Regions from separate parts of the Homo sapiens genome. Here all the other regions are linked to region 1. Evidence: promoter capture Hi-C in 16 types of primary human blood cells and fetal thymus (Javierre and others, 2016). All regions are on one chromosome and are shown on one strand. Each heading gives the region's core, a stretch centred on a gene start or on the middle of the fragment in contact. The rest is flanking DNA. Distances are from core to core; before and after follow the strand shown. Region 1 holds the start of ABCB5 (ATP binding cassette subfamily B member 5). Region 2 overlaps LOC105375180 (a long non-coding RNA gene). Region 3 overlaps POLR1F (RNA polymerase I subunit F). Region 4 has its middle 5.4 kb from the start of POLR1F. Region 5 overlaps TMEM196 (transmembrane protein 196). Region 6 overlaps TMEM196 (transmembrane protein 196). Region 7 overlaps LOC107986774 (a long non-coding RNA gene).

Region 1 (2,635 bases), core at 36-2,535:
AATATGTGAAGTGATGGATGTGCTCATTGCAGTAATCATTTCACAATGTATATGTATATCACATCATCATGTTGTAAACCTTAAATATAGACAATAGTATTTGTCAATTATACATATTAAAGCTGAATAAATAAAATAAATTAATTAAAATTATATAAAACTCAAAATTCAGCTCCCTCACTAGGCACATTAAAAGCGCTCAATAGCCACATATGTGTAGCGGCTAGGATATTGGATGTGTGGAGAATATCTCAATTATTGCAGAAAGTTCTGTTGGATGGCTCTGCTCTAGAAGTAACACTTTTAGCTACATTACACCACTTCTGTGCATTTAGATGACATCATGAGATTTTTAAAGCAAAATTAATTATTCCTTCTGTGCATATGACAATTGCAAGTTTATCTCTAGGTTGGCAATTTTCCTAATTATTAGTGCCACATTTACATCTGTTTGCCAGATATTTTCACTTGGACACCAATATCAACCCAAATTTGCATATTTAAACTGAATGTTACCATTTCCCCAAAACCAATTCTGTCTCATAACTTCTCTATTACCATCTTTACTACTCTTTTGTTACAACTTTTAAAAGTTTGATCGCTGAACTTATATTTTTTTTATTTCTTCTTCCTTGTCCTCTTTACCTACCTACCGCCTTAAAAATACCTCTCAAATAGTCTTACTTACTGCTATCAAACTAGATTTTAATGAGTCTACTTAAATCTTGTGTTTCCCCAAGTCCTTCCAGTATATCCATGGCTGTAATGTCAAATAATCAGGTTAATTGTACCAAATACCAATGGCTTTGTCTCTTTCATTCCAGAAAATTATAAAAGTTGTCCTAAAAATTGGTTCAGTGCCTTTTACAATCGTATGTACCTTATCTCTCTCTCCATTTCTGCATGAACAGTCCATCCTATCCAAACCGTTCTCATTTCTCTACCATGAGATAATTCACCTTGCATTCCTAAAACTATGCCCTTGTTCCTCCTCCACATTTTTCTACTTACTGAAACCTTAGCCTTCCTCCAGAAACTAACCTCAGGGCCATCCTCATCTGTGGGCGAAACCATTTTAGATCACAATGTTCTTCCTCAGTCTTCTTAGATACTAGAATAGTCACTCTTTGTACTATTCATCACATAACGTCTGTCTTGCCAGGTATATTAGGTTCCCCTAGAGAAATAGAATCAATAGGCCGTGTGTGTGTGTGTGTGTGTGTGTGTGTGTGTGTGTGTATGTAGAGAGAGAAAGAGAAAACACGCTCATGTAATTGTGGTGACTGGCACTTCCAAAATCCACAAGCCAGACTAGAAGGCTGGAAATTCTGGCAAAAAATTGATACCTTGTATCTGAAAGCTTTATCCTATCCTCTTCAGAAGACTTCAGTCTTTTCTCTTAAGGACTTCAACTGACTGGATGGGGCCCACTCAAAACAGCATCTAAGGAATTAAAGTAAGTCAAAGCAAAAGTATTAGAGATTATGAAAACAATTGAAGCTTGTGAAGAATATAAAACACTTCTCCATCTTAGAAAGAATAGTTTGTGGTAAAGATGGAAACAAAAATGTGTGTGTATGAAACTTTTTCATAGTCAGAAATGATCATCCTACTATTATTTTGGTCATTTTAAAGCATCCATACAATTCATATCTTCTTTCTTTCTTTCCCTGTGACAGGGTCTCACTCTGTCACCCAGGCTGGAGTGCAGTGGCACGATGTTGGCTCACTGCAACCTCCGCCTCCAGGGTTCAAGAGATTTTCCTGGCTCAGCCTTCTGAGTAGCTGGGATTGCAGGTGCCCAGCACCATGCCCAGCTAATTTTTTTATTTTTAGTAGAGATGGGGTTTCACCTTGTTGGACAGGCTGGTCTCGAACTCCTGACCTCAGATGATCCAGCCGCCTTGGCCTCCCAAAGTGCTGGGATTACAGGCATGAGCCACTGCGCCCAGCCATATCTTCTTTCATCTAACCAAAGATCCCATGTTTTCCATCCAACCAGTATATCTTAGCTATTTGTCAGATTATTCTTACCAAGGATGCTTGAACGTTAAGTGCATCTCATGATTTCTTCTCACATGGGTATTTTGTCCTATGATTTCCATCTTGGTACATGAACCTAGAAATATTTTTTAAGGCAAAAGTCCTTATAAATAAAATATTCTGTCTATTTTTACATTTTCTTGTATGTTCCATAGTACTTGCCATGATAGCATCCACACAGCTGTCAATAAGTAAGAATTGGCTGACTGATAGATTTTGTGTAGAGCAATTAAGATGTTCAGAGTTCTTCTCTCATGTTATCTACTTAGTGCTGGATATTACTACCTGATTATCTCACAAATATCTCAAACTTGACAAGTTTCAAGTTAAATTTATCTTCCTTTTGAAACATTGGGTAACAGAGAGGAACATGGGGGCAGCCATCATAGTCAACCTGTAGCTTTCCATACAGTGAGGACCTGCCAACTGGCTCACAAATTGCTTTGACCTTGTGTCGCTTTGTCTCAGTGCACTTTTCTCTACTATCTAAATAGTATTCCTTCTGCCTGGGATAGTCTTTTTGATCTTTATATAGCAACCTCCTTTTATAATTCAGATTGCAGCTTAAACATTATCTTCTACAAGGGGCTTT
Region 2 (2,635 bases), core at 77-2,576, 950 kb before region 1:
GAAAATAATAATATTTACATTAGCATCCAAAAGAATACCAAAGAAGAAATTTAAACAATGGGGTGCAAGATTTATATACTGAAAATGACAAAATATTCCTGAAAGAAATTAAAGACCTAAATAAATGGAAAGACACCCTGTGTTCATGGACTGAAAGACTTAATTCAGTTAAGATGGCAACAGATATCCACAAAGTGATACAGAGATTCAATGCAATCTCTATCAAAATTCCTATTGCCTTTTTTTTGCAGAAATGGAAAAGCCAGTTCCAAAAATCACATGAAATTTCAAGGGACCCCCAAATAGCCAAAATGATATATAAAGGGAAAAACAGACTTGAAGAATTCACACTTCCTGATTTAAAACTTACTACAAAGTTACAGTATTCAAAACAATGTGATACTGGCATAAGGATACAAATCTACATCAATGGACTAGAATTGAAAGTCCCAAAGAAAACCTGAACATCTATGGACAATTGATTTTTAACAAAGGTGCCAAGATCATTCAATGAGGAAAGAATAGTTCCTTGCCATAACGTGATGAGACAACAGGGCAACCACATGTTATAGAATTAAGTTAGACTCCTACCTTACTTCATATGCAAACTCAAAATGGAAAAACAACCAAAATGCAAGAGTCAAAACTCTAAAACTATTAGAAGAAAACATTGGGAGTAATAATTGATGACTTCTAATTGGCAATGAATTCATAGATTTAACACCAAGAGCACAAGTAACAACAACAACAAAAGATAAGTTGGATTTCATAAAAATAAAAAATTGTGTGCATCAAAGGACAGTTCCAAGAAAGTGAAAAGACAACCTCCGGAATTGGAGAAAATATTTGCAAATCATATCTGATTAGGGTTTAATATCCAGTATATGCAAAGAATTCCTAACACTCAGCAACAAAAAGACAATCTAATTAAAAACAGAACAAAGGACTTGAACAGACATTTCTTCAAGGAAGAATACAAATGACCAATAGCACATGAAACGACGTTCAACATAATTAGTCATTAAGAAAACACAAAACCATAATGAGATACCACTTCACAACTATTAGGAATTATATAATTGTTTAACAGAAGATAAGTATTGACAAAGATACAGAGATATTGGGATCCTCATACATTCCTGGTAGACATGTAAAATGAAGCAACCATTGTACAAAACGATTTGGCTGCTCCTCAAAAATCTAAATATAACATTACTATATGATCTAGCAATTCCACTTCTAGGATACAGGTTTTTGTTTGCCGATGTTCATTGCCACATTATTTACAATAGACAAAAGGTGGAAGCAAGCCAAATGTCCATTAGCAGACGAATGTAAACAAAATGTGGTAATATACATACAATAGAATATTATTCAGCCTTAAAGGAATGAAATTCTGGCACATGCTATAACATGCATGAACCTTGAAAACATTATGCTAAATGAAAGAAGCCAGATTTGAAAGGTTATATATTATGTCTTTTTAATGGAATATACAGAAGAGGCAAATTCGTGCAGACAGAAAGCAGATTTCTGGTTGCTAGGGGACAGAGAAAGCAGAGAATATTGAGTGATCATGTAATGGCTACAAGGTGTTTTTTGAGGTGGTAATGTTTTGAAAATGAAAGAGGAAGTAGTTGCAAAACATTTCAAATACACTAAATGCCACTGCATTGTACAACTTAAAATGGTTTACTGTATGTTATTTGAACTGCACATCAGTGAAAAAGTACAATTTGGTCTAAACATAAACTGTTTGGTGTCTTACTATTCAGCAATTATAAAAAGAAAAATTAAACATCTCTTTGATTTTGAAATAATGGCTTTAAATGTCATCCTTACCTTTCCAAATTAGAATTTGTCTTTTTACTGTCTTAATCTTAGCTTTGTATACATGCTGGGGGTGGGCTGAGGAGCTAGGAAAAATCCTCTTTTTCTTTTTTACTTCTTCATCCAATGTTCAAAAGTTGAAATTTTTTTTAAAAAATAGATATGTCTGAATGAGAATATGAGACATTTTGGTCTAAGTCATGTGCAGCACTTCAAACATTTCATTTGTCTTCTCATAGAGGTCTGAGAGGTGAGCCACTGGATACTATTTAAGCATGCATTCTTCACATTCATAAATAACTGTCATTTGTGATTCTGTTATATCTATGTTGCTACCTATCATAGCCCCTGCCATTAGCCTGTAGAGTTACAAACAAGAGTGGTAAGGCAGAGAGATGTCAGAGAGATGTAATCTCATGACCGTTAAATCCATAAAAATTCCTGCAAGTAGCCTTAGCTTCTGGGGAGATCATCTGCTTGCTCTGAATTAAAAGCAGCATCGAGTAATTGAAGGATTTCCTTTGACTGTACCTCAGCTAGAAATTATTTAGTGTCAATAAAAAATTTTGTTCTGGTAAGTTTTCAGCATGATTCTAAAGCAATTCAGTAGCACAGCCGTCATTTCAAAACAATGTAATGGAATTCAATGAATGCTCTTCAGCACAGACTACATTATCACAATTAATGCATATATACAAAATAGAAGTAAATTATCTAAACAGTAGGCTATGACACTCCTGCCTTTGAGGAAAAAGATATATGAAAGTTAAATATCATTTCAAGACTTATGTCATAAAGTCCCTAC
Region 3 (2,635 bases), core at 92-2,591, 920 kb before region 1:
TTCTCTCCTGTATTAGATACATTGTATTTAGCTCTTTCTTGTCCATAATCTCATAAATTTGTAGGTCATTTTAATTACTAATGCATTCTACTTTTAAATGCTAAATTATGGTCCTCTTTGACGGCTTTTAGCTTCTATTTCCAGCTGTTTACTAAGAATGGACGAGGTATTTCATGTGTCCTTGTTTTTCTGTGACTCAATAAGTGCCGGAGCATTTTCTAATTATAGCCAATGAATGTGGAACTAATTACCTACAACTATACAGACTGCAGCTTATTTGCTATTGAAATCCTGGTTGTAGACTTAGGTTTGTTGATTCTGCCTTTCCCCCCTATTTACTCCAATTTTATAACTTACTAAATTTTTGTCTTACTAAAAATTTTCAAACATATTCAGGACGAGTTATCAAATCAATGTGAGTAAGTAGGAACAAGTCTAGCATTCAGATAAAACAACTGGGCTTTAAGGTGATTCAGTGTACCAAATATTTATTTCAAAGAAGTAGAAGACAAAATGATGCCATGAAGTTAGTTCCTACTGCCAAAGCGGAGATTTGGATGAGAAAAGAGTTTAGACCAAACATCTGAAGATCTTTATGTTTAGTAAGGAGAGCCAGTGATATTCTGAGTTGAAGATGGGTTGAACTTTTCCATGAATTGTCCAGGAAAAATACCACAAAAAGTCACATAATGTGCAGAATTATCCATTATTTTTCAATTTTGTTCTCACTGTATGATATATAAAATCTATTTTAAAAGTGTTTTTCTACTTAAAAAATAACTATTCATTTCAAGTGCCTAAAGAATATTTTTTAAGAATATTTTTTAAAACTGAACTATGTACTGGCCCCCTGAAATACCTCCATTTCTAAAGGTAGGAATCAGAGCTTACCTTTGGAAGTCACAATGTACAATACAGCTGGAAATAAGCAATTAAACTAACAATGAAAGCTTTTAGAAATGTTAACAATACCCTTTTAAGAGGGAAAATACAAACCTAAATATCTATCCTTGGGAAATGAAATAAATTATACACTGAAATTCTGCAAACATTAAAAATAGGAAGACCTCTATATATTCATATGGGAAGACATTTACTATAAAATAGAGTAGACCCAAAAAGTGCAGGTAGTTTGATTCCATGTCTTAAAACATTTTAAAATTCACTACTTAAAAATCTCTAAAACTACACATGGAATTGACAATAGTGGTTATTTCTGGAAGCAGAATTGCCAAGTGGGTGTGTGTGGTGTGGGGAGGAATAGGGAGGGAGATCAATGACTGGTAGAGTGGGAAGATGTATATACTTTTACTATATGAATTTTTAAACAAATATATATTGATTTTGTAACAAAATATCTACTTTTTGAGAAAAAAAGGCAAAGATGACCCATGTGGTGAATGTATAAAACAAATTAAAAGAGATCAAATTTCTGTCATTTTTAAGTATTCTATCCCTGACACACTAAAGTGATAAAAGTGCTTAAAAACCACATTACATATAGGCCAAAAAAAAAAAAAAAGATGCATTTATTGAAACAAGTGAAAATAATAATATCACATCAGAGGCCAAGTGATACCATTTGAAACTGTGCTTTTTATTTATCAATTTAAAATTATCTGTTGATGCTTTCATTATACAAAGGATTCACTGTTAAATACTATAGATATAGTTAAGGCATAATTCCAGCCCTCAGGAAACTTATTTGGTCAAGACAAATTTGATTAAGAGACAAGCTTTACAAACAGGTAAACAGTTTGAAATAATGCACAGTGTTACAAGTAGAAAAATATTTATTAAAGAAAAATAAGAATTATGGTTATGAAGCATGCACATTTAGCCTTGTCTGGAAAAAGTTTATGCGAAGGTGGTGCCTGAGGTCTTTTACATTAGATAACTTCTTAGTCCTCTGTCAGGTTCTCCACCTGGAATGCCACAGCTAGTTTTTCTTCTCCAAGGGTCAAAATGCTGCTCTTCCAACAACAAGCTTAAACACTAAACGTAAAGCATTAAACATTCATTGTTATTTGTACTTGTCATTTATACTTGTGTATCTTATAGACAAAACGGTAAGCCCTTAAGAGCAGAAACTGCTTAAAAGTCATTTCTGTATCACTGGTGACTAGTGAGGTGTCTTGCACAGTGAAATGGGTGAATGATAGGAACTGGAGAGAGGGTAAGGGATCTAGTCTAGGCTATAGGGTTTGTATGAGCAAATTCCAAGATAGAAAAGATAGACTAGGTTAGTGCAGCATGTGCCAAATGTTTTGAAGAATACATAGTGGACACCATCATCAGTCTTTCTGTGTCAGAAAGACAAACAAAAAAAACAATGAACAAAGTTATGCTATTCTAGGAAAGACAAATGGCCAGATCTGACTTTTCAAAACTACTCACATTGTGAAAAAAGCAGGAACAAATCTAGTTTCAAGTTCAGCATGCCGTTCCCTGTTTAATTCATAAAACACAACTGGCAGAAGTATTACTTGAAGCAAAACAAAAGTAACGTGGGAACTTGCTTATTTGCTAAGCCACAATGTATTTTTCCAGGAATAGCATAAATTTGCCATCTTTCTTGTGTCTATGGAAAAGGGGTTTAGAATTGTTTCACTAAAAATTAAATTTCTATATTGTC
Region 4 (2,635 bases), core at 50-2,549, 900 kb before region 1:
GTCCCTAGGAATGCCCACCCTGGATAAAGAGCAATACTAGTACTGACAGGAAGGATTTAATCACACTTATATGACTGTTTATATCAAATTGGTGGAATGAGTGATGAGTGTCAACATCACAATGACCAACATTATCACAGGTAAACTTTACTACAAACCTGCCAGATGCTATGCCAAGTGCCCTAGGTAAATCACTGACAGATAATCTTTATGAATTGATTACACTAATGACATATATTTACAAGCGAGAAGCCTGTATTCTAAAAGAAATGTCAGCCTCATGATGGTAGCTATCCTCTCTGTATTGCTAACAGTCATATGCCCAGGGCCTAATGCATACTCCTTGAGTGAATGAACCAATGACTTTCCCAAGAATACCCAGCGATTTATCAATAAAGGAATCTAACCCAGGCATGAGTTATCCCATAATTTATGCTTTGAATCACTAAAGATCCTCACTTTTTCTATGTCTATATCAAAAACTGATGAAGAAGGAAATTGTAAAAATTGATGGTTTATTTTATTTAGTCTCTGCCTAGAAAAGTGCTAAGGTAAGATATTTGACCAAATTGGTAAATATTAACATTTTAGTAGGATTGGAAAGGTGTCAAACAAGCACCAGTTTTAGCCGAAATATATATAATACAGGGTATATCAACCAAATGTTTGTTGATGCAGACCACTTGTGTTTCACAAATTTGCCAGCAGATGGCAAAAATGAGCTTAAATTTGTAAAGTTTTGCTTTAGCTTAAGGACTGTAGAAATGACAAAAGTGAAGGGAAACTTTATTGATGGCTTGTTTTTATCTACAATCCTTCTTCAACAGAGAACTTAGGATAAATTTTTGACTCTGAAGGCTCCTTCTACTTGCTTGTTAGATTGTTGACACTACATGATACACATGTGCCTAAAGAGAATGAGGAAATATATTAACAGAGCACATTATATTACATACACACACACACACACACACACACACACACACACACACACACACACACATATCGTTTAAACCTGAGCTTTGAAATATGGACCTAAATAAAGTCATGCCAATTTTTTAGCTCCTGATGTTACAATTATCTATCTAGGTAAAAGCCAAGAAGGCAACTGCCTAGCACTTTGGATGAAAGATGTCAGCTAGAAAGGATTAGCTTAAATAATAAAATAAATTTGAGGTGTGTGAGTGTGTACGAGTCTGCGTACATGTAGATGTGAGCACTGATGACTGCTTCTAGAGGTTGGGAAGAGGTAAACAAGGTATCTCAAGGGGGTGAGTCTACTTTAGGAGGACAAGATGCCATCTGTATTTATTGTCCTCTTACAAAAACTAGTGTTAGTATTTCTTCTAAGCCCTATTTCCTCTCTAATCAGACCTTTCTGCAATCAAATTTCAACATCCTCCTTTCAAGTTTTTCAAATCCAGTGAATTAAGCTAATACAATTGGCTGTGATGCTTGCAAGGGTGACTGTGGAAATTCTCATTTACTTCCACCTGTCTTTTGCTCAGTGCAGAATAGAAATAGAAAACAGTTTTCTTTTTTATATTTTGAAGATTACTTTAATGCTGTAGTTTAATAAAGCACTTGCTGACTGCAGAAACTGTGTAGATGTGAACTCCAAGATTCTTGACATTAAATAGTTCCGAAGAATGTGGTACGGAAAGTTTGAGGGTGGTAATTAAAAAAATGAAATTTAGATGCAGTGCCTTTTGATACACAATTTACTCTGAAGTGCCCAAACACAATTTATATTAATGTATCATATTCTAGACTTCCCGTTACAGCTACAGGGTGCTTAATACACCTATGCTTTGGAAATTATTATAGTTATGAATTTATCGTTGTCCAATGGCAAAGTGAACTTGCCCAGTTGTGAAAAATGCCCTGCAGGAATTTACAAATTAAGTCATTACTTTAAGGCCACAGTTGTTAGTAAAATATCTGAAAGTCCAAAATTTGCACTGAGTAGGATAGACTAATGAATAAAATGAAAGACTAATGAATAAAAGAAAGCTACTCGATTTCTTTGTGTCTCACTTTGCCTTGATATTCTTTGTTGTGATTCCTGTTTTCTTGTACCATATTGGCTTTAGGGTGATACTGACAGTATTAACTCCGCTTGAAAAAAACCTTTTCTCCTGAAATCTTTGGCACAGTCGAATAGACTAAACTGGATGTTTAAAAGTAGGACAAAAAAAACACCAGAGCCTACCAGAAATGAACATATCTTTAATATAAGGGCATAATTTTTTTCATGACCAAATTAGTTTTCTCTATAGCCTACAGGTCCAAGCACCTTATCAATAAAGCCTAGGGGAAAAGTGATCTTGTTTCCGTTTCTGTTACAGCTTTCTGCCTGTCTCCAATGACCTCCTAGATTTTCCATCCTCTTTATATTCAAGGTTTATGGAGCTCAAGTTTTCTTTCAGTTGGCTGAAATCCTTTCTTTGAATTCCTATTTTCAATATGTGTACATACTTGCTGGCCAGGTGACTAAAACAGTCGCTTCTCTCACTAGCTGCTGCTGCCTCAGTGACTAAAGCTGGATTTCAATTGGCTGATTCAGGAGTAGGGAGTTTTGTTAAACAAACTCAAGTGCCTAGAGTGAAATGACTGAAGGTAGCTGTCAAAGCTT
Region 5 (2,635 bases), core at 72-2,571, 880 kb before region 1:
TTAGAAATAGATCTAATAAAATATTTTTAGTATTATAAAACCATGAGAAGATAGAAACTCAGAACTTTATAAAACCTGAATACTTGCATAATTTTCAGTAGCCTTAAAAAGCTATTTCAGAGTGACCGTTTCTCACCACCCACTGTGTCCTAAGTGTAGATGATCATGTCCTCTTATGGACTCTTTCTGTTACTAATTTCATCTCACATTTTTGAAGGCAGTGCTCAAGAAATTCCAGTTTGGACCAATTCTGTACCTTTCAGTGCTTCAAGCTTCAGATCAAAGCTCAAGCATACTCTTCTCCTTAAGTTTCCCTGACTACCCCATTTTCATCCTGAAAGTCCCATTTATCCAGAACTCATTCGAAAAGAATTTGAAAGCAGTGTAGTTTTGTGTTCCTTGCATCTGTTTTGAAATCTGTAAACACTGCCATTATTCATTTACAGTAAAGCCCAAGAGGTGGTCAGGAGCATAAGCAGAGTTCTCCATCCAACCATTTGGTTAGAACATCTAGGTGGCAATAAATTTGCTATTTTGTATTATCTCACTTCAATTGGATGGAGCTAAGAAATGTGAATTCAAGGATTGGGAGAGGGAAGGGAGAGTAGGGGAGGAATCAATCAATATTTTTTCTACTTTCAGCAGATGAATGTAAATACTCTCCAACTGTTACTTCTGTTAGAGTATCCAAAATCACATGTCCTAGAGAAAAGCTGTAACCTGAGAAAAAGTGGACACATGTAACAGGAAGTATATGAAATCATGGGATTTATGAGGAGGATCTAAAAGATCTTGGTTGAAATTTAGCCACCACAGTTTATAGAAAAGAGAAAAAGAGGCCCCCAAAGTAGTAAATTGATATTTTATTTCATTGGCTATCTTTATTTACCACAAGTCATAATACTGGAAGAGATCTTAAAAGATGATTTAATTAATCCCTCGAAGTTTACACGTGGGGACATGGTCCAGAGAGGTCCAGAGAGTTAGTGACTTGCTCAAGGTAACACATCAAGGTCAGAAATCACACATCTAATTTAAGACTTTATTAAGTGTCTAAATTAATTTGTTTTTAATAATGGGCTGGGCATGGTGGCTCACACCTGTAACCCCAGCATGTTGGGAGGCTGAGGTGGGCGGATCACAAGGTCAGGAGTTTGAGACCAGCCTGGCCAATATGGTGAAACTCCGTCTCTACTAAAAATACAAAAATTAGCCGGGCGTGGTTGCAGTCACCTGTAGTCGCAGCTACTCTGGAGGGGGAGGCAGCAGAATCACTTGAACCCAGGAGGCGGAGCTTGCAGTGAGCCGAGATCGCATCACTGCACTCCAGCCTGGGTGACAGATCAAGACTCCATCTCAAAAAAAAAAAACAAAAAAAAAAAAAACGGAATGGAAGTGATTTTTAGAGTTTTTTTTTTTTGTGTGTGTTAGTTCAGTGTAGGTTATACTAGCAAATCCAACTAGAAGTGTTCAATGAATACCTACTCACCTACAACTGCAAGACCATTGTTAATTTATGATATAACTTCTGATGTAATCAAAATAATAAGAACATCAGTCAATTGTGTTACATTCTAAAATTAAATGCATCTTATTTTATAAAGGAATTTGTTATAATATTTCAAAATACACTTTCTTTTGTTCAACATAACTTTATCCAGGATGCAAAGCACTTACCCACATCATGGCAATTATTAAGCAAGTAAAAAACAAATTAGCTAAAAAAGTAAAGCTGATAGCTGTATGTATGTGCATATGTGTAAAGCCTGAACCATGAGAAAATATGATTTTATTTGTGAGAAGATGGGATGTTTAAATCCAGGGAGGATTATTTGCGTTGATCTTACTGTGAAATGATATAAATGTAGCAATCTAATGATAAGGCATCTAGTGCTACACAATAAAATAAAATTAGTTCATCCTCCAAGCGAACTTCATTTGATTCCAATTTAGATTATATTCAATAGAAAACTAAGATTGTGACGTGTTGGACGAAATGACATGATTATGAAGACAGTATTTTACACTTTGAGTGGATTTTCTTTATGTAAAGTCCTTGGAGGTTTCTGCTTTTGCTTAGGACACAGAAAGATGCAAAGATGTCATTTCCACTCTTACAGTAAGGAAATGATATTTTAGAGCCCATCAGAGAGCTGGTTGAGATTCCAAGACAATGAGATAACTTCAATTCAAAGAGGGAAATCTTCTCCAAGAAAGGTCTGACACTATGTCACCTGTTGCAGAGTAAGGGAGGAAGAGACACTGGTCATCACACATTTGTTTGTGTTGAGGGAGGTGTAAAGCCCTGCTCCTTCCCTAGACCTTCTTTTTTATGAAGCAAAAGGCTTAGGCTTCTGGCAGAAGGGTAGCAAAGCTTCTCATTTCCAGGGCCTATTCAAATATAGATTGCCACTCTAACTGGAGGAAAAGTAGAAGATCCTTTTTTAAAAAAAAAAAAAAATACAGAGGGAGAGGCAGGAATTCATCTTGGGCCTGGCATCCTATGCCTATACGAAGTAGAGGACATTGACCATTGGAGAAGAGGCAGGAGCCTCTCGCCCAAGATCAACCCCAGATATAAGGCTAAGTTTAATTGTCTCAGGAAGGAAGGTACAGAATACTGAGAAAGCCCCAC
Region 6 (2,635 bases), core at 98-2,597, 860 kb before region 1:
TGTGTATTAATTTCTATTTACTCCAAAGGAAGTCTTCGAAATGCTACCAATCATACTTGTTTCTGAATGTCATGTTTTAAAGCATAATGTTATATTCAGATTGTGTCGATGCTCCAAGAAACTAAAGAATAACATAAGATGTTGGTCATCATAAAAGCTTATGTCTAGTTTTGGCTCAGCCTACAATCATTTTGCAATTCAGTGTGCATGTAGCCAGATGCACAGCAGTTAATGAAAGAGATCTAGACTTACATTGTCAGCTTCAGACTCAAAACATGAATCTCAATCCTGTTTCCACTCACCACTTTTCCTGTGTCTATTACTCTTATTACTGTTCTCTCAAAACTCAAAGACACTATTGATTCCCCTCTCCTCCTACGTCATTTTCATCACATTAATTACAGTGTGCCATTACTTTTATATCCACAGTGAAATTTAGCTTTTATTCAAGGCCTCACCAGCCCTTAACAGGATTATTTAAGGGCTTTTGAGCGAGTCCCTCTGCCTTTAGTTTCTCTAATATCACTCACTCTAAGTTCATTCCTAGTATGATTTTTAGCACCTTATTAGTGCCTTATTTTCTCGTTCAATTTTTTTAATTTAATTTTATGTATTTCTTTCTTTCTTTCTTTCTTTTTTTGAGATGGAATCTCGCTCTGTCACCCAGGCTGGAGTGCAGTGGCCCGATCTTGGCTTAGTGCAACCTCCGCCTCCCAGATTCAAGCGATTCTCCTGCCTCAGCCTCCCGAGTAGCTGGGACTACAGGTGCGCACAACTACGCCTGGCTAATTTTTGTATTTTTAGTAGAGACAGGGTTTCACCATGTTGGTCAGGCTGGTCTCGAACTCCTGACCTCGTGATCCACCTGCCTCAGCCTCCCAAAGTGCTGGGATTACAAGCATGAGCCACCCGCCCGGCCTTTTTGTTCAATTTTTAAAATCAATGTCTCTCCAAATTTCTTGGCCTGGCATCAGGGCCCAAATGGATGGTTCCAAGCCAATTTGACAACTGGTCTACTGTGGATCTTCTACAGCCAAAGTGCACTTAAATTATTCTGTACACTCTCAGTTTATCCCTTTTTGCATATTCTACTTCTCTTCTTGGACAGTTTTATTCTTATTCTTACTATTCTCCAGGGTCCATCTGAAATTCTCTGCTCAGATAAAATCCCATCTTTTTCTCCTAATTCTCAGAGTACCTTTTTTATGTGGCTTATTACGTTTTGACTCATAAATATTTATATGCTTATTATCTCTGTTACTACCCCTTAAGCACTTTAAAGAGAAGTCTATTTTTTATTCTATGTTATAACCACCACCAGCACCCTACTCCCACTCAGAATAAATCAAAGAGGTACAATTTATCTAAACTCATTTTCTTACCCCTTCCCAAACCTGCCTTCATTTTTGTTTTTCTGATCTCAGCACATGTTCATTCTCTTTAACCCAGGCAGAAAGTCCGACTTAATTGCCAATCTTTTCAACCCATGTTTTTAAAAGCGTGACTCCCATGAAGTCTTGTCGAATCTGCATCTATAATTTTTCACGTAATTCCATTGCTCTTGGTGTTCCCTTCATTCTGACTCTTAATTTTAATATTAAAGGCATACACAATCCCCCTGCCTCTAATTCTTCACACTATTCCCTAGGTGATTATTCTTAAAATAAATTGATTCTAGTCTCCCTTATCCTCAAACATTTTTTGTACCTGTTCATTTCTAAAGAAGAAGGCTTCAAATCCTATAGTCTAATACTCAGGTTCCTCATAGTTGGACCAAGCCTACCTCTTCAAGCTCCCTTCTTTCTGTTCATTCTGTGCTTAGAAACCAACATTCTCTTGGCCATTCTCAAGCTCTCATAGGCCTTGCCTCCACGAGTTTGGAATATCTCTCCTCCTCTCTTTTCAAGCTCTCTCTACTTTGTTTTTCCAGGTTTGCCACCGAAGGCACATCTTTCATGAAGTCATCTATGACCCTCTTCACCTTCCTTGTGCATCCACAGGATTTGCATACACTTTATTGTGTATTGAACTATATTTATGTGGATTGAGTAGGAGGTAGTGTAGCTTAGTGATAAGGAATGACTACTCTGGAGTCATACTGACTGGGTTTGCATCATGGCTCTCCCATTTTCTGGCTGTGTGGCTTTGAGAAAGTTACTTATTTTTCCACAGTTTCCTCTTTACTGAGATGCATAACAGTGTACACTTCATAGAATAGCTGTAAATGTTAAATAAAATTGTAGGTATAAGTCACTTGGAAGAATTCAAGTGCTCGCTATCTATTATTGTTTGCAGGTATGTTTCTTCTAACAACTCTAAAGCCCTTGGATCCAGAGTCCAGTCTATTATTTATATTCAAATTCTCAGCCAAGTGCTTCATTCAAAGTTAGCCCAATAATTATTTGTCAAATTGATTCACTGGAAGCAGATGAAAAAAATCATCAGAATTTCCAAAAAGAGAATATGATTAAATGTTAATATTATAATTACAACTCTAATCAGTAGAATACAGATGGGAATCTTTTACAAGTAATCTGAAAGCTTGCAATACATCGTGAGCATTGTTTGAAGTGTGTTGTTGCCAGAGTGCAGGTTTTGATGAAATTCTTTTCTGTAGTCATGGGCTAAAAGCTTG
Region 7 (2,635 bases), core at 79-2,578, 800 kb before region 1:
TCAGTTACATTAGCTTTTTGAAGATGAGAATTTTCAAATGGTTTGAGCAATGTTTATGGTAATATTTAGACCATAGTTCTTTTAAAAGGTTGAAGGTCCTTGTAAAACATGCAAAATGTAATATGTCTAATTACGAAAAGAAGTGCCATTTAGAAATAGCCATATTTTGCAGTAAAACATTTTAGATCTTTTTAAACCCTTGTCTGCATATTATTATGATCTAAAAATATTATGCTTTCCCCCCAGGAGATTTTGATATATCCTCCTGTAAAGGGGATAGGGTATGCTTTATTGAGCATTACTGCATTTAAAAAAGCAATAGTTTTTTTTTCAAAATTATAATTGTTTAATTTGAATGTACTTTATTGAACATAAAGAACAGGCTCTACTTACTTTTAAGATTCTTGTATTTCCCCAGACACAGTTTTTCCCCTGATTGAGAACACCATCATTTAGAGAATGAGAGAGAAAAACTGGAAAATATACTCATTTATATACATTCTATTTTTTCCAGGTAAATGTTGGTAATAAACACACATTAAGGACAGTGTTTCTGCCCTGCCATTGAAGGTATTACTCAGCTAGAATATTCTCTGCCTACATAGATCAAATTCATAAGGTAGTTATTTAATTTTCTTTTCATTTTAATGAAGAGTATCTTAGTGGTAGAACCTACCTCTTCCTACTGAATTAAAAGTATTGGCAGTAGAGCAAAGGCCATAGGCAGTTTTTATTTGATTGTTTTTGGTTTTTCTTATGTGAAAACATTTCAGCAATTTTGTCCCAGGTGTTTACTGTCCATGTTAAGCTCTGATTTCATTTTGGCATGAAGAACAACATGAATTTAATGACATCCAGGTGTAGAAATGGTTACTACTGTCGTGGGAGTTGGAGACCCAATTGGCAAGACTGAAAATTAGTTTCTGAACTTCACATTTTGCATTTCCTTCTTTCTGCTCAGCACAATAGTTCTGCTGCACTAAGGAAACTGCTAATATCCAATTTAGGAAGAGCTGGTGAATGGTATTCACATGAGCAAGATAAATTAAAATCTTCTTAATGAGATAGCAGCCAGACCTGAGAGGGAAGGTTTCCTGAAGACTCCAAATTTTGAACTTGGATGCTTGGGCTTGAGGCTTCAGCAAACTCTCACATCATGAATGTGGGGACCGTGGTATCATATACCTCATCACAATCTGGCTAACACTATTTCATTTCATTAATGAAGAGTTTTGGTTATCAATTCAGTTTTTGTCATTCCAGCTGTTTGCATTGACTGTTTTTAACTATAGGCAGGAGGAGTTCCCTCTTACTGATAGAAGAGTCAGACTTGTAGTTCTATTTAGGCCTTCAGCTGATTGCCATAAGGGCCACTCATATTAGGGAGGGAAACCTGATTTACAGTCTACCTATTTAAATGTTAATATCATCTTAAAATCTAAAATAATGTTTGACCAAATATCTGGATACCCCCTGGCCCAGTCAAGTGAGCACATAAAATTAATCATCACGCCTATCAAGTCACAAATGATATAGATGAACCTTAAATGTATATTCAAACTTAAAGAACCCAGTAAGAAAAGAATATATACTATATGATTCCGAGTTTGTGACATTTAGGAAAAAGCAAAACTATAGAGACAGACAGTAGAAAGAACAGTGATTGTCAGAAGTTCTGCAGGAGGAGCTCGGGGTTTAATATGTGAAACATGGGCGATTTGGGGGTGGTAAAAGTATTTGGAATTATACTATAGCAGTTGGTATATGAAACTGTGCATTTTTCAAAACTCATACAACTTTACAGCACCAAGATCATACCTTAATGTACATAATTCTATTTTACCTTATTATTTTAAAATTATTTATTTTAGAGATGGGCACTCACTCTGTCACCCAAGCTAAAGTGCAGTGGCACGATCATAGTTCACTGTAACCTTGATCACCTGGGCTTAAGCAATCTGCTCACCTCAGCCTCTTGAGTAGCTAAGGCATGTGCCACCACACCTGGCTAATTTTTAAATTCGTTTGTAGAGATAGGTCTCTCTATGTTGCCAAGGCTGATATATCTGTTTTTGTTGTTTCTAATTAAAATTATTTAGGAATTCATGGGATCCAGGATGGAATGCAGACTGTAATAAAAAATCTAATCACATCACAATTAAGAACACAATCTCCCTGAAGAGGTGAGCTAAAATATAAGTGAGGAGTGTGCAAGGATGCTGAATGTTTGGGAATGAGAGGATAAATGAGTGATGCTTGAAAACAGACCACATTGAAAATCCTGCCACGGCAGCAGCTGCAGCCACCAACAGCAGTGGTGTTAGTGACCTAAGTAAGCACCGACTTCGTAGAAACCAGAACATCAGCCATCTTGGAAAAGAGAAAAACAATGGAGTTACTTATTTAAGAAAAACAAAAAACAAACAAACAAACAAAAAACACAACTATTTCTTCCCAGGAGAGGCTAGAAGTAGCTTTTCTGCCTTCTGGCCGGAGCCAATTGGAATGACTGGTTTGGGAGAGGAGGAGGGGTTGTGTCAGCTGTGGTGCTTTGTTGTAAAAGGCAGCCTGACCTTTGCTACTGAGGAGAAAGATGGAGCCGAGTCTCAAGCCCACCTTCTCTGTATCTTTGCCA

Evidence for each region. Contacts are between HindIII fragments. The CHiCAGO score rates a contact against its expected background, and 5 or more counts as called.
Region 2: a fragment that was not itself captured here is called in contact with the fragment with the promoter of ABCB5 in region 1 in 1 of 17 cell types (total B cells); the score reaches 8.1 in total B cells.
Region 3: a contact is called between a fragment that was not itself captured here and the fragment with the promoter of ABCB5 in region 1, in 5 of 17 cell types (naive CD4 T cells, total B cells, M2 macrophages and 2 more). The highest score is 8.5, in naive CD4 T cells.
Region 4: a contact is called between a fragment that was not itself captured here and the fragment with the promoter of ABCB5 in region 1, in 16 of 17 cell types (total B cells, naive CD4 T cells, fetal thymus and 13 more). The highest score is 35.2, in total B cells.
Region 5: a fragment that was not itself captured here is called in contact with the fragment with the promoter of ABCB5 in region 1 in 15 of 17 cell types (M2 macrophages, M1 macrophages, M0 macrophages and 12 more); the score reaches 17.3 in M2 macrophages.
Region 6: a contact is called between a fragment that was not itself captured here and the fragment with the promoter of ABCB5 in region 1, in 15 of 17 cell types (M2 macrophages, total B cells, M1 macrophages and 12 more). The highest score is 35.3, in M2 macrophages.
Region 7: a contact is called between a fragment that was not itself captured here and the fragment with the promoter of ABCB5 in region 1, in 1 of 17 cell types (M1 macrophages). The highest score is 5.4, in M1 macrophages.

Annotation. Positions count from the first base shown.
Region 1 is chr7:20,614,382-20,617,016 of GRCh38, forward strand. It overlaps ABCB5 (ATP binding cassette subfamily B member 5), which reads left to right and starts at 1,286. Exons shown (of 28, transcript NM_001163941.2): 1 at 1,286-1,456. The HindIII fragment of the contact is 15,833 bases long and covers 1-1,358 here.
Region 2 is chr7:19,662,745-19,665,379 of GRCh38, forward strand. The region is part of intron 4 of LOC105375180 (a long non-coding RNA gene); the gene reads left to right. Among named protein-coding and RNA genes, the nearest start is that of MIR3146, 41 kb to the right of the region's middle. The HindIII fragment of the contact is 3,247 bases long and covers 1-2,635 here.
Region 3 is chr7:19,693,885-19,696,519 of GRCh38, forward strand. POLR1F (RNA polymerase I subunit F) reads right to left here. Exons shown (of 4, transcript NM_001002926.2): 4 at 1,577-2,635. Among named protein-coding and RNA genes, the nearest start is that of MIR3146, 10 kb to the right of the region's middle. The HindIII fragment of the contact is 786 bases long and covers 949-1,734 here.
Region 4 is chr7:19,713,160-19,715,794 of GRCh38, forward strand. No RefSeq gene overlaps it. Among named protein-coding and RNA genes, the nearest start is that of POLR1F, 5.4 kb to the left of the region's middle. The HindIII fragment of the contact is 2,662 bases long and covers 1-2,630 here.
Region 5 is chr7:19,731,215-19,733,849 of GRCh38, forward strand. The region is part of intron 1 of TMEM196 (transmembrane protein 196); the gene reads right to left. All of the region lies in intron 1 of LOC107986774 (a long non-coding RNA gene), which reads left to right. Among named protein-coding and RNA genes, the nearest start is that of POLR1F, 23 kb to the left of the region's middle. The HindIII fragment of the contact is 2,102 bases long and covers 271-2,372 here.
Region 6 is chr7:19,751,993-19,754,627 of GRCh38, forward strand. All of the region lies in intron 1 of TMEM196 (transmembrane protein 196), which reads right to left. The region is part of intron 1 of LOC107986774 (a long non-coding RNA gene); the gene reads left to right. Among named protein-coding and RNA genes, the nearest start is that of TMEM196, 20 kb to the right of the region's middle. The HindIII fragment of the contact is 2,384 bases long and covers 156-2,539 here.
Region 7 is chr7:19,810,731-19,813,365 of GRCh38, forward strand. It overlaps LOC107986774 (a long non-coding RNA gene), which reads left to right. Exons shown (of 5, transcript XR_001745112.2): 2 at 515-619; 3 at 2,100-2,635. Among named protein-coding and RNA genes, the nearest start is that of TMEM196, 38 kb to the left of the region's middle. The HindIII fragment of the contact is 5,704 bases long and covers 1-2,635 here.